Regions from separate parts of the Homo sapiens genome. Here region 2 is linked to region 1. The links are contacts of gene promoters, found by promoter capture Hi-C in blood cells and fetal thymus (Javierre and others, 2016). All regions are on one chromosome and are shown on one strand. The core of a region is centred on a gene start or on the middle of the fragment in contact, and the rest is flanking DNA. Distances in the headings are between cores, read along the strand shown.

What was found. The method cuts DNA at HindIII sites, captures the fragments that hold promoters and counts their contacts. A CHiCAGO score of 5 or more calls a contact.
Region 2: a contact is called between a fragment that was not itself captured here and the fragment with the promoter of KDM4A-AS1 in region 1, in 7 of 17 cell types (endothelial precursors, monocytes, M1 macrophages and 4 more). The highest score is 9.7, in endothelial precursors.

The regions. Positions count from the first base shown.
Region 1 is chr1:43,703,474-43,709,823 of GRCh38, reverse strand. KDM4A-AS1 (KDM4A antisense RNA 1) reads left to right here and starts at 2,483. Exons shown (of 5, transcript NR_033827.1): 1 at 2,483-2,765; 2 at 5,367-5,471; 3 at 6,177-6,260. ST3GAL3 (ST3 beta-galactoside alpha-2,3-sialyltransferase 3) reads right to left here and starts at 2,288. Exons shown (of 12, transcript NM_006279.5): 1 at 2,131-2,288. It overlaps KDM4A (lysine demethylase 4A), which reads right to left. Exons shown (of 22, transcript NM_014663.3): 20 at 6,088-6,207; 21 at 5,712-5,804; 22 at 4,306-5,594. The coding sequence ends at 5,454. It overlaps ST3GAL3-AS1 (ST3GAL3 antisense RNA 1), which reads left to right. Exons shown (of 4, transcript NR_125986.1): 4 at 289-432. RefSeq lists silencers at 1,821-1,870, 1,901-2,400 and enhancers at 2,531-2,610, 2,336-2,853. The HindIII fragment of the contact is 3,706 bases long and covers 1-2,745 here.
Region 2 is chr1:43,953,744-43,960,093 of GRCh38, reverse strand. It overlaps IPO13 (importin 13), which reads right to left. Exons shown (of 20, transcript NM_014652.4): 3 at 3,634-3,774; 4 at 3,393-3,534; 5 at 3,118-3,284; 6 at 2,779-2,899; 7 at 2,545-2,692; 8 at 1,936-2,117; 9 at 1,826-1,852; 10 at 1,499-1,633; 11 at 1,205-1,348. Among named protein-coding and RNA genes, the nearest start is that of IPO13, 10 kb to the right of the region's middle. The HindIII fragment of the contact is 5,643 bases long and covers 699-6,341 here.

The DNA of each region.
Region 1 (6,350 bases), core at 1,234-3,733:
CCAGTCTGGAGTGCACTGGCGCGATCTCGGCTCATTGCAACCTCCACCTCCCGGGTTCAAGCGATTCTCCTGCCTCAGCCTCCCGAGCAGCTGGGATTACAGGCGCCTGCCACCACGCCTGGCTAATTTTTTGTATTTTTTTTTTGGTAGAGACGGGGTTTCATCATGTTGGCTAGGCTGGTCTCGAACTCAAGGTGGGAAGATTTCTTGAGCCCAGGAGTTCAAGAACAGCCTGGGCAACATGACAAGACCCTGTCTCTACAAAAAAAATTTTTTTTAATTCTCCAGGTCACCTGCCTGTGGTCCCAGCTACTTGGGAAGCTGAGGTGGGAGGATCGCCTGAGTCCAGAAAGTCAAGGCTGCAGAGAGCCACATTCACTGCACTCCAGCATGGGTGACAGAGGGAGACCCTGTCTCAAAAAAAAAAGAAAAAAGAAAAAGTGACAATGACAAGTAAAGTGTTACTGTATTCCTGATAGTTAGCTACAGCTTCCTTTGAAGTAAATTCTATTACTTGTTTACTCTTTGCACCACACAGGACAAAGGTACCTCTTGGATTAATGCCATCAACCTACCTTTTGTGCAACCTCATATCCTGCTTTTTCTGCTAAGAAACCCCCTGGAACCACCCATGAGCATCTCAGGTTCCCCTGCACCTTTGTCATCCTCACTTTCTCATCTGCTCACTTCTTCCCCTTCATACAGCCGGCTACCCACTCTTCATGACCCAATTCAAGCCTCAGCTTCCCTGTGAAACCTTCCTCAAACACATGGATTTCTCCTTTTCTCGGTTTCTCAGAGTACCTACCATCTTGGAATTCTAGAGACCATATCACAGTTATCATTGTCATGTGTGTGCTTTATTCCCTCAAGTATATTATAGGCCCATTAGAGCAAGTTTCTTATCTTAAATGGTTTTGAGTTTCCCCTCAGTCAATGCCTTGCATAAAATATGTACTCAAGAGGCGTTCCATTGATTGATACAAAGTCTGTTAGTCTCTGAGAACATGAATGTCTTGTTTCATCGTTAACATTTTATTTTTATTAAACCATGGTTAGACAGTTAGACACGCGAAATGGAGAGATTCACCACTTAATATCTCAAAATATCCTTAAGAATCTCTAATCATAGGAGGAGCTGTATTGCCTTAAGAGATTATTTGAAAGTATCATTTGGCTATAAATTTCTGTGCCAGCTTCCTTTTAATCCTCTGTTGACTTGAAAGTACACCAAACATTTCAGTGATCATCTCTACAAGATAATTCTGCCTTAGAAACAACCTAATTTGTCATGGGGACTATCTTACTTTTAGTAACCTAATAAGAGTTTTTTCCTACCTTAATGTCCAGCTATCTATAATTCACAGTACATCCACTGAAAAGTTTGAGTATTTTACTTTCTGAGGTAATAGCCGCCTTCACTGGTCCTTCCCTCAATTAATTACATTCAGTTATCAGGTTTCACTCCTTCCTCATACGTGAAGGAAACATAAATGAGGCTTACTGAGGAATCATAAAAATGGACATTGTTGTAAAAAGGAATCCAAAATGTTCATGGGACACTCTCCTAACCAAACCTGCCCTCCTCACTAAGATATTTTCTCTTGCAAGCAAAAGCACCGAGGACACAACGGGGGAAAGTGCCAGAAGGAAAGGAAGCAAGAGAGGCGTACTTTGCCGATCAAACTGACCCCAGTTCTGGCCCCCGCTAGAGCAGTAAGCAATGACAACCGCTACCCAAACGCTGCCGATTCCCGCTCAGGCGCTCCCTGGACTTTTCTTTCCTTTTCCCACAGCAGGGCCCGAATGACGGTGTCCGTGCTCTGCGCCAAGGTGCGCAGCGCTGCGGGGTTTCACACGGAGATGATCTCAGACCTCCTGGCCTGCGTCCGGCCGGCCTTTCCCCCAGGCTCGGCGGCCCCCACCCAGGAGAGGTCATCCAGGTACTGGGCCCCCAGCCCGAAGGACGACTGGGCCGTGCCCCGACCCCGCCTTCCCGGGCACTAGCGCGCGGGCTCCGCGCCCCGCCCAGCCCGGGACCCGCGGCCGGCGGGGGAGGGGCGGGGCGGAGCGGCGACCGTTATTCGCGGTCAGCCATCGCGCCCCGAAGCGCACTGGGCAGGCCCTTACCACAGCGGAGAGGGAGGCAGGGGGGAGGTGGCGCCCGGCCCGACGCGGGGCAGGAAGGCGGAGGCAGCGGCGTAGGCGGCGGCGACAGCCGCGGGGGACCCCGGCGGGAGCCCACAACGCGCTGGGCTGCATGGGCGCCGCCATAGTGGGGACGCAGCGGCGGGCGGAGCGCGCGGCCGCGACCCGGTCGGGCGCCTGCGACCAATGGGCTCGCGGAAGCCGGGCGGAGCGAGGGCCTGGCCAATGCGGAGCTGCGCTGCCCCGAGCAGCCCAATAGACGCAGGAGCCGCGGATTTGCCGTCCCGCCCACCCCGCCTACCACGAGAGCAGTGCTGCGGCGAGTGCGGGGCGAGAGGTTCGCGCTGGTGGAGCACCCCAGCTTGCAGGTTCAGCGTGGGTGTCTCTCCCGGGCACATCGAGCTGTCTAGAGGAACCCTCTTCCCCTGGCTTCACGGCCCAGAGGACGCACGGCTCTCTCCCCTCGAGAGCGTGTTTCGTCGCCCGCGCGGGGAACGCAAAGTGCTAGGGTAGTCACGGCCACTTCACGCCGAGGGACATCTCATCTCGCCCTCCAGGTCGTGAGCGCACCCATTCCGCTCACTGAGGCCGAAAGCTTCGGACCTCCGTGGGCCCTGGTGGGTAAGGGGGCACGGGGGTGAGCGTTAAGAGACTCGTAGAACATTTTTAGTCCGCGCGTGGCACAAGGCCTCCAAGCCCCACGTACACTTTGCAGCCCTCCCACTCCTTTTTCATTCCTGCGGCTGAGCCCTGGTGTTATCCGCCTGGGGCGGAATTTAAAACTTAATTCCTCAACAAAGTCGGGGTGGTCTTTAAACTGCAACCTTGGATCCAAAGGCCCTACCTTACAAAGGGAAGGCAGTTTGCCCTACAAAAAGGCTTCTGGGAGGAGCTGCCTAAGGCAGGAAGGGACTGGCAGGCCGGGAGGTGCCGCTTTTGGCTGGGGCCAGTTCTCTTGAGGTCGACCCGACTGCATAGGCAGCCAGTAGGGGAGAGAACGGGCCGGTCTGTGTGATTTGGATCACCTGAGTTGCAGTTTCCTAAGAGTTATTAGGTTGACCAAAAAAAAAAAGTGCAGTTTCTGGAAAACTGGTCAGCTGTTGAGTAAAAACTGCTGGGATTAAACCCAGCGCCCACCCCTGGAGGCAGTGGGGTCATCGAGAAAGGTAGGGATCCTGTGTAAAAAGGCTGGTGAAGTGTTCCTCTCTTCCAAAGATGTATGGATTAGTGTTCTCTCACCAATCCACTAAGGCCTGGTTCTGCCCAGCCTCCCTTGCTACATCCCCTGGGAATCCCCAAGTGGAGTGTGGGCAAAGAAAAAAAAAGGCCAACTTCCCTCCCTGGGCCCCAGGAGGGAGCTGACATAGAAAAGATCACCTCCTGCACCTCCCTTTCTCCACAATGAGATACCAAGTAGCAACCACCTCTCAACCCCCAGGGACACAAGGAAGCATCCAGAGCAGCTGAACTGACCTAAGCCTCTCCTGCACCTGGACAGGGCCATGCCACAGGAAGTGCCTGGCTGTTTAAGGGCCAGCCGGTGCAGCTCCGGGGCACCCAAGTCCTGCACCTATTCATTGCCCCCCTCCCTGCTCTGTGGTTCCCCATCCTTGTCCACTTTGACCTCAGGGATCTACCAGCCAAAGGAGATTGGGTCTTCCTCCAGGGAAGCTTCTCACCAACTAGACAGCTCGGAGAGCAATCTGAGGATCCCACTGGAGGTTGAGTCCCTTGCTTTTCAAGCACCTAAAATGCACCCATCCTTCCCACTGGTTCCACAATTTGTATAGAGCACAGATGCTGGCATGAACTTAGGCCAGTTCAACAAAGATGTATCAAATGGGGCAGCAGTGAGAGATACTCTGTTGAGAGGACTCATTGGTCTGGTGCTTCCTCTGTTACCTCATCTTGCCCGTCTCTAAGGCAGAGCAAGCACAACAAAGAGGTGCTCAGAGCCAGAAGTGTCCCTGCTCCCATGACCCACCATACTTGGCCTAATACAGAGCTTGACAAGCAAAGGACCCACTCTCTGGAACTTCCTAGGGAATGCCTTACTGATTTGTCTTAAAATACACAGCCCCGCTCCAGAGCCTATGACTCTAGATACACCCCCCAGCCTGACGTGGGCCACGTGGGCTCCTTGGGGCAGACAGCCAATCCTCTGCTCAACACATTTTATTGCTAAGGACAAGGTGATGCACCAGTTTTCAAAATAATTTGGTTTATAGTGTTCATACGTAACAAAAAAGGGGAAGTATTATAAATCTGATTCTTGTATACACAGGGTATTGGTGTGAAGCCCTCCAATCCTGGGCCCAGGCAAACAAATTCTTGAGGAGCAAAAACCTGTTTAACCCCTTCAGTATTGCCCTCTAGTCCCACCCCCCACCCCAAAATCAGCTCCCTCCCACCTACAGTGGGCCTCCAATGGCCCCAGTTTTTTCATCCTAACCCTCCCAGCCCCTGCATGATTGCAATTTTCTGTTGACAGAATCACCCACCAGGCTCTGCCTGCTTCCATCATTAAAATCCCCGATTCAGGGTAATCCCCACCCACACCCTGTAATACTTTGCCACAGGGGCTCTGCACCTAGAGTGTTGTGGGCACACACCCATGTTATCCCCATGTTCTCCTTTAGGGGAAGACAAAGAGGTGGCATCAGCTCCTTAGCATCTCAATACTGCAGCTTTGCCAGCACTGTCTTGAGACGGTTCCAGGCCTGGACAGATGCCACACCCATCTCCAGCCAACCCCCAGGAGCCCTTACTCAGCTCAGCTGAGGGCAGAATTTCACATTTTGTTTGCCCTGCATAGGCAAGGAAGAAAGTAAAGGCCAGGGGCTGGCAGAAGCTGGTCCAGACCAAACATACACGCACGCACGCACGCACGCACACACACACACACATATAAATACAAAAGTAGGGGTTGGGGCAAGTACCAGCACCTCAGCCTAGTCGGTGCAGGTGATAGTTATGAAGCTAAGTCCTAGGCCAGGAACAAGGCAGCCAGTCCAGCCAGCATAGTTGACCCCTCTATGGACTGGGGCCAGTGCAGCCACAGCATTCCAGTGCTCAGCCCCTCAGCTGGGAGATCAGCGACTGCTGCCACGTGCCCAGAAATGGCTCGTCCTTTCACTACAGCGGAATGCAATGAGGGTGGGTGAGAAGATGATGGGTCGGTTATTTCATTCCTTTTCTTTTTACAACTTCACTTTCAGAGACTTCAGCGTTCCATGTCTGCTGTGCTGTGGAACCCAGAGTGCTCTTGCCTGGATGGCTGAGAATCCCTTGGACCCTGGAAGCACCTACTCCATGATGGCCCGGTATAGTGCAGGCTCAATATAATCTTCCCGGTATCTTGAGTTGATAACTCGTTGCCGTTTCTTTTCTTGCTTAACCTCTTTCTCTGTGAAAATCTCATTGAAGCGCATGTCTGAGGCTACTGACTATAGAAGAATAAGCAAGCCAAGTGTCAGCTACCCCAGGAACAATACAAAGGGATGCATCCTTGACTTGTTCCCTCCCTCCAAGACAGGAACTGGGGGGACACAGAAAATACTCACCAGTCTAGATTTGACTCTCTTGGGAAGCTCTTCATCCAGTGTGTATACATCATCTCTCTTAACCACAAGTTGTGAGCCATCCTCAAACTCCACCTACCAAGGAAACAAAGGCCTTTTGGCTAGGATATCCCTGACTCTTTCCCTGGTCCACCATGCACAGTGGCAGTCCCCTACAGTCAAAGGAAGGAGTTAGAACACTAAAATAACAACTACCTTACTTCACATTTGGCAGACTGGAAACAGGGCAGACCCCTAGCTCTGAAAGGGTTACCAACCTATTAGTTCTCCTAAGAGCAAAGACTCGCCTCTGGCCCAACAGGAAGCACAGAATTAATCAAGCACCCCCCACTCCCTAGAAAGGTAGAACTTTGGATACCTGGTACATTTGGATAGGGTGGGAGGCCACAAACTTGGCTCCATAGACTTGGCCGTCTGTCCATCTCACTTGGACCACTTCCCCTTCAGCAGGAGGACCAAACTGGAGACAGTCCTGGCTCTGAGGAAACAGGAAGGAAGGAGGGTGAAAGGAACGTCCACCTGCACACAAAGGTAACTGTCCTCTACTCAGGGAAGAGTGAACCAGGACAAAGTAACTGTTTTAGAGAGCAAGGCAGCTCTCTGGGCTGAAAAATGTTAACA
Region 2 (6,350 bases), core at 2,271-4,770, 250 kb before region 1:
GTTTGCTGAACTCTCTCATGAATGAAAAAGGAGTATTTCCTGAATTCTAGGGATCATCTCAAAGGAAGCCTCAAACTGCAAAGCAGAGATATCACAAGTGCTTCATAAGGTTACAAAAACTTTGTAAACTTAAAAAAAAATCTCTCCCTATCTCTGCTCTGTAAAACCAAGGCTATGGGCTAGCCTCTGAAGAAGTGGAGATGCTATCTCCTCCAAATAGGCTTGAGGTAGGGAGCCCCAAGGAATGCACAGATGCAGGCTTAAGCTGCTCTCCCAGCTTATGGAGGAGCAGAGAGCAGACTGAGGTCCTGGGAGGTGAGGAAAGGCAGGATGATGACTACCATGTAAAGAAGCAGCTCTGTGGGATGACAGTGGCCCAGGGGTGGTCTAAAGCCAAGAGGCTAACTGAAACTGGGTTGGGGAGTTAAGCAGAGAGGCCAGGATGCCTATGGCTTCCTTTTCTCCTGGAGAAATCTGGGAGGGAGTTCTGGGAACAACGACTAAAGCAGTCCCTTATATTTGTAAAGAACTTTACAATATGCAAACTACCTTCACTTAAGACCACATCTACTATCCAGCACAGTTCTATGAATTGAGTAAGCCAGACATTTCAATGTTCATAGTTTTTAATGGGAAGCTGAGGCTTGCCCCAGATCAAGCAGCTTGTAAGTGGTCACCCCAAAACCTATGCCCAAGCTTACCACAGGACTTATCACACTGCTTTGTGACAATTTGAGCAACCTGAATTTCCTCTACACTGGGAGCAACTTGAAGGCCAGAACTATTACATGCGGAGGAGGTAATGAGCATCCTTAGTGCCCACAGGGGACAGTAAATGTTGAAGTAGAAGGCCCTACAGAGCTAGGGGTTGAACAGGGGCCCATAAAATCACTTAAGGGTTGAAGGATATAACGTCAATGTCCCTCATGGGGCTGAGGAATCTCAATGACATCACCCTAATTGGGCTGGGGACAAGGACAACATCACACACAGAGCTGAGTGAGATAATGACATTGCTGCCTACAGAGTGAGGCAATTATAGGTCATTCATGGAGTCAGAGGACCAAATATATCACGCCCACGGGGCAGGGAGAACAATGACAACATTACCCACAGAATTGAAGAGTGACAATGACATTCCCACAGGTGGGGGTTGGGGGGATGGCAAAGACAAATGTCTTTGCCGTGGGCAAATGTCACCCACGGGGTTGGGTCCCTGTGGCACTGGCAGCTTCCGAAGCTCAGGGCCTTCATGATCATCCTCATGATGACTGATGTCCAGTGTGGTGAAGAGGTTGGAGAGAAGCCCCAAGATGTGAACAATGGCCAGCTTGTTGGAGGGATTGGGCTGCAGGGAGAAGCAAACCAAGCTCCAGATCTCCCAGCCCCAGTTTGGTCCCCAGATCACTGAGCCTCAGCTCTGAGGGCCAGCTCCAACCTCACCCCTCATCAGCCACAGCATCTCAGTACCGCTCCCTGGCCCCCAGAGCTCACTCACTATCTCCTCTGCCAGCTTCTCCAGTTGCTGGATATAGGGTGAGATAAGCGAGTGCAGGTTCTTAAGGATCTCCTCCACTTGAAGAGCTGACAGCAGGAAGCCCAGCGCCTGCATCAGCCACATGCACTGGCTTGTCTGTGGGGCAGAACATGGATGGTCAGTCCTGGCCACATCTAGTTGTGGGGTAGGAAGGAAAATGAGCCTCTTGGGAGAAGAAAAACAGAGAATAAGGGATAAGAGGAAGGGGAAGGCCAAAAAACAGGATTTCAGGGATAAGTGATTCCCACAAGACCTCCAAGGAGACCCCTAGAAACTTTTGAGCCGCACCTTGTGGATCTGTTTCATCAGCACATCCTGAGGGGAGAAAGAAGGAATGTAGTATCAGCACAGTGCAGAGTGTGCTCTGAGGCCCAGCACCATCCAGGGCCCCTGCATACCTGGGACACAGCCACAATGTTGGCAGCATAGGGAGGCAGGTCATACTTGCACTCTCGGCAGATCTTCTTGAGGGTGGACACAGAAGAGACAGACAGCTCAGGATTGCCTAGGGCATGCAGTACCAAGGGCAGAACACTGTTGATCATGACGGGGTGGTCAGCCAGCCATTCAGACAGAGCTCCTGGAGGAAGGAGGGAGACAGGAGGATCTTTGAGGCAGGCCAGGCTGGCTTTGTACCATGTCTCTGAGGCAAGCAGAGTTCCTGGCAGGGTCAAGTTGCAGCCCCAGCACAGAGTACTGCCCCATTCAGAGGACATATGCATGTGCATGCTCAAACATGAGCCTTACAGCTGAGAAGCAGGAAGGGGTTACTCAACAGAGGCCCAGTACTGCTGTTTCACTGACGGTAAACTAGCCTCACTGAATTGCAGCTCAGTGTGCCATCAGATGGACCCCCTAGACCTGCCAGGACAGTCAGTTTGTTACAACACTGATTGTGTGTAGGCATGTGGCTCTCCCATTCTGGATAGGATCCAGCATGCTGGCTGTGGCCAGGGTTGGGTGCTGTGGCTCTGGGAATATGGTCATGGGTGTGTGCCAGGTCTCACCAATGGTGAACATGACAGTGTCTGCCAGCTGCACGTTGCTGATGCTGATCCGTGGGATGAGGCCAATGAGCCCAGGCACCACATCAGAATAGTTGACGTCAATGGTCTCTGCGATGGATTGGAAGCCGTAGAGGAGGGCCTCTGTGTGCTGGGGAAAGAGGGTGCCACTGGCTTGGATGAGGAGGAGGGTGTGACAGGTCTGGGAAGGCTGAGGGAATCAGGCTTGGGAGGTACCTGCCAGGAGTAGGGCTCCTCTGAGCTGGTGAGCAAACGACCCAGCTTGTCATAGAGGTTGCTGAGCAGCTCGGCCCCCAACATCTCATAGACATACATGAGCGTGTCTGAGATGTCCACCCTGAGAAGCAGATGAAGGCCTTTTATACTGCCTGGATCCTGACCCTGGATCCTGCCCCCAAGCCCAGGAGCCTACCCCAGTACCCCCACAACTCTGCAACAATACCTAGAAAACAGAAAGGAGCACCAAAATTCAGAAAGCCTGGACTTGGGCCCCTTCCCTCATTGCCTTCATTATTTCTGGACTCCATTTTAGAGGAGTTGGCCTGCTACCATCACCTGTAAATTCGGAACTGCTCCTTCTCGTCTGAGGACCAGAATCCATATTCCTCATCAGAAGGGAACTGGGCCTTGTGCAGAAGCACATCCACCAGCTGGAAGTAGACTGGCCGGTACACCTGCTGGTATACAGCCTGCTTCTCTGCCTCAAAGGATAGAATATCATCCTGAGAGAGCCAGGGAAGAGAATTAGCCACCTCACCAGCAGTCATAGAAGCCCATGATCCACCTTCTTCCACCACAGCCCAGTCCTACTGGAGGTCACACAGACACACCTGCAGTGTGTACCAGAAGGTGAGGGTTAGGGAGCTGGTGGTCTCATTGACAGGATAGTGGCCAGGGATGCCTGTGCAGAACATAATCATGTTGACGAGTGCCAGGAAACTCTGCCAGTGCTCTACTTGGTCCAGCAAGGCCCTGGGGAGAGAGTCAGGTCATTCTACCTTTCCAGGGACTTCCAGAACCCCATTTCTTAGAGGGCCCTACTATCCCACCCCAAGCTGCTCCACCCTTTACCGGGAGTGGTTCTCGCCCAGGGCCACAGCGATGCGACAGATGCCATGGGAGGTCTCCATGTCCCCATTCTGCACTGCCTGCCGCAGTTGTTCCTGCAGACCCAGCACCAGCGGGATGAGTTTCAGGAGTGTGTTCACGTACCTAGAGGCATGAGGTGAGAAAATCCATCAGAGCTCTCTGCTCAACCCCACACTGGCTTTAAGAGAAAGGCATAATCTCCTTGTCTTCCATCAAAGCTCCCCTTCCCTTATCAAATCCTAAGCAAAAAAAGGGTCAGGGTCTACATGGCAGATTTGATGTTCCCAATGTTGGGAAGAACCTTAGATCAGGGACCCCCAGAAGAACTCTGAGAAGGACGTATGAGAAGGTCAGCATTATGGGTTGAATTGTGTTCTCCAGTTGGACTGAGAGCTGATTCCGGAATGGGTTAAGATTTTTTTTTTTTTTTTTTTTTTGAGATGGGGTTTTGCTGTGTTACCCAGGCTGGTCTCGAACTCCTGAGCTCAAGAGACTCAGCCTCCTGCTCAGCCTCCAGAGTAGCTGGGATTACAGGTGGAGCCACCACATCCAGCTAGGTTACAACTTTTGGGGAGATTGAGATGAAGTGAATATATTTTGCATGTGGGGATAACATGAAGTTTGGGGCACCAGAGGGCAGACTGTCATGGGTCAAATTAAGTCCCCACAAAAAGATACATTTTTTGATAAATCTTAATCCCCAGTACCTCAAAATGTGATCTTATTTGGAAATAAGATAATTGCAGATGAGGTTATACTGGAGTAGGATGGACCTGAACTCCAATATGACTGGTGTCCTTATAAGAAGATATCTATGTGAAGACAGAGACATACAGGGAGAATGCCACGTGAGGATGAAAGTAGAGAGTGGAGTGATCCAGCTGGAAGCCAGGGAACACTGAAGACCGCCAGCAAACCACAGAGCTAGGAAGAGGCAAGGACGGAGTCTCCTACAGGTTTCAGAGGGAGCACAGCCTTGCCAACACCTTGATTTCAGACTTCTATCCTTCACAATTGTGAGACAGTTAATTTCTGTTTGGCTTTAAAGCCACCTAGTTTGTGGTACTATGTTATGGTAGCCCTAGGAAACTAATACAGTCTGTCAGGGGTGATTGAACAAGAGTGGGATACAGAAGAGTAAACACAGGCTCATAAGCCCTGATTTAAAAAAAAAAAAAAGACTTTGGAAGGCAGCAACAGCTCATGAGAGCATCAATCCCTGCCATCCGCTCCACCCTCTACCACCAAATCCCAACTCTTGAGGAGTGTGGTGGCAGCAGGGAGGAAGAGAAGTAGACAATGAACTCAGAGAGAGCTAAGAGGCAAAACAGACAGGACTTGATGACTGACTGGATATGAGGAAGGAGAAGAATAAAGACACCTCTCAGGTCACTGGCTAAACAACTAAGTAGACGGTGGAGCTATTTACTGAGACCTGTGGGGTGAGTAGCGGGGAACAGTAACACCTTTAATGGGAGGTGGAAGGTGATAAGCTCAGTCTTAGACAAGTTGATTCAGAGACACCTGATAGGTTATGCAGGCAGAAGCATCTAGAAAGAGTTGGATATAAAAGCCTGAAGCCCAGCATAGAGGTTAGAGCAAAAGCCATAGATTTGAGAGTCATCAGCTAACAGCTGGTAATTGAAGTTATGGGAATAGATGAGAATTGCCCAAGGAGAAAGTGTTGAATGAGAAAAAAATAAGAGGGTCCAGATCACAGCCCTGAAACACAATGATCTCTAAAGGAGAAGGACAGACAGCCCAGTATACAAAGGGGACTGAGAGAAGCCTGGCTCAGCCCACTGGATCCCTCTCCAGCACCTTGGTCTGTGGAGATGAGACTAAGCAGAGGAAGCCACACTCTAATAGCGGGGATCAGATGCTTGGGACCCCTCTGTTGTCAATCATAGTGTCACCATAGCAATCTATGTTAGGGAGTTGGGGACTGAGGATCCCAGAGGGAGTTCTATCTGGACTTGCCCCAAGCAGGTTGCTAGGCAGTAGCCTCATATCCTTGGTGGGAGGATGAGAAGGACAAAAAGAGGCAACCAGCCTAGGGACATCGGCCTCCTTCTCCACATCCCCATTCTGGTAGGAAAAGTCACCCATGCCAGGATATCCCCAGCCCAGAGACAGCCCCAGGGGGTGCTGCCTGGAGACAGCCGGGATAGCTTCAGTCTCCTGACCCTGACACGGGCTGCACCACCAGACAATGGGCATTTTCAGGCCAGACTCTGGCACAAAGAGAAGGGGCAGGGCCAAGGCTATGGCCCACAAGCTCCTCAGCAGCTGAGATGGGTGCAGGAGGTAGCGCTCTACTCCCATAGCTCCCCACTGTATTCTAAGACTCCTTCCTCCACCTGCCAAAGTTCATGCAGATGGCAGGGTACTCGGCAAATGTTCTTCATTTGTCTCATCTGAGCCTCAAAATAGGACAAATCAAGGATAATACAGCCTCAAAGAGCTCAGAGTATCATATCACTCAAGGTCATACAACAACTTAGAAGCAGAATCCAGGTTGAAACTGCCCCTTAAACTGCTACAGGTCTGCTTTTCTTTCAGGGCCCAACCAGAATTTCCCCAAAGGATTTATGTACGTCTCAGCCCATATCTCCAGTCCTAACTGATGGGAGCCCCCAAGAGCCTGCCTAATTCACTTTCCCTCCATCCCCAACTCCCAAGGACAAGCTTTTCCAGCA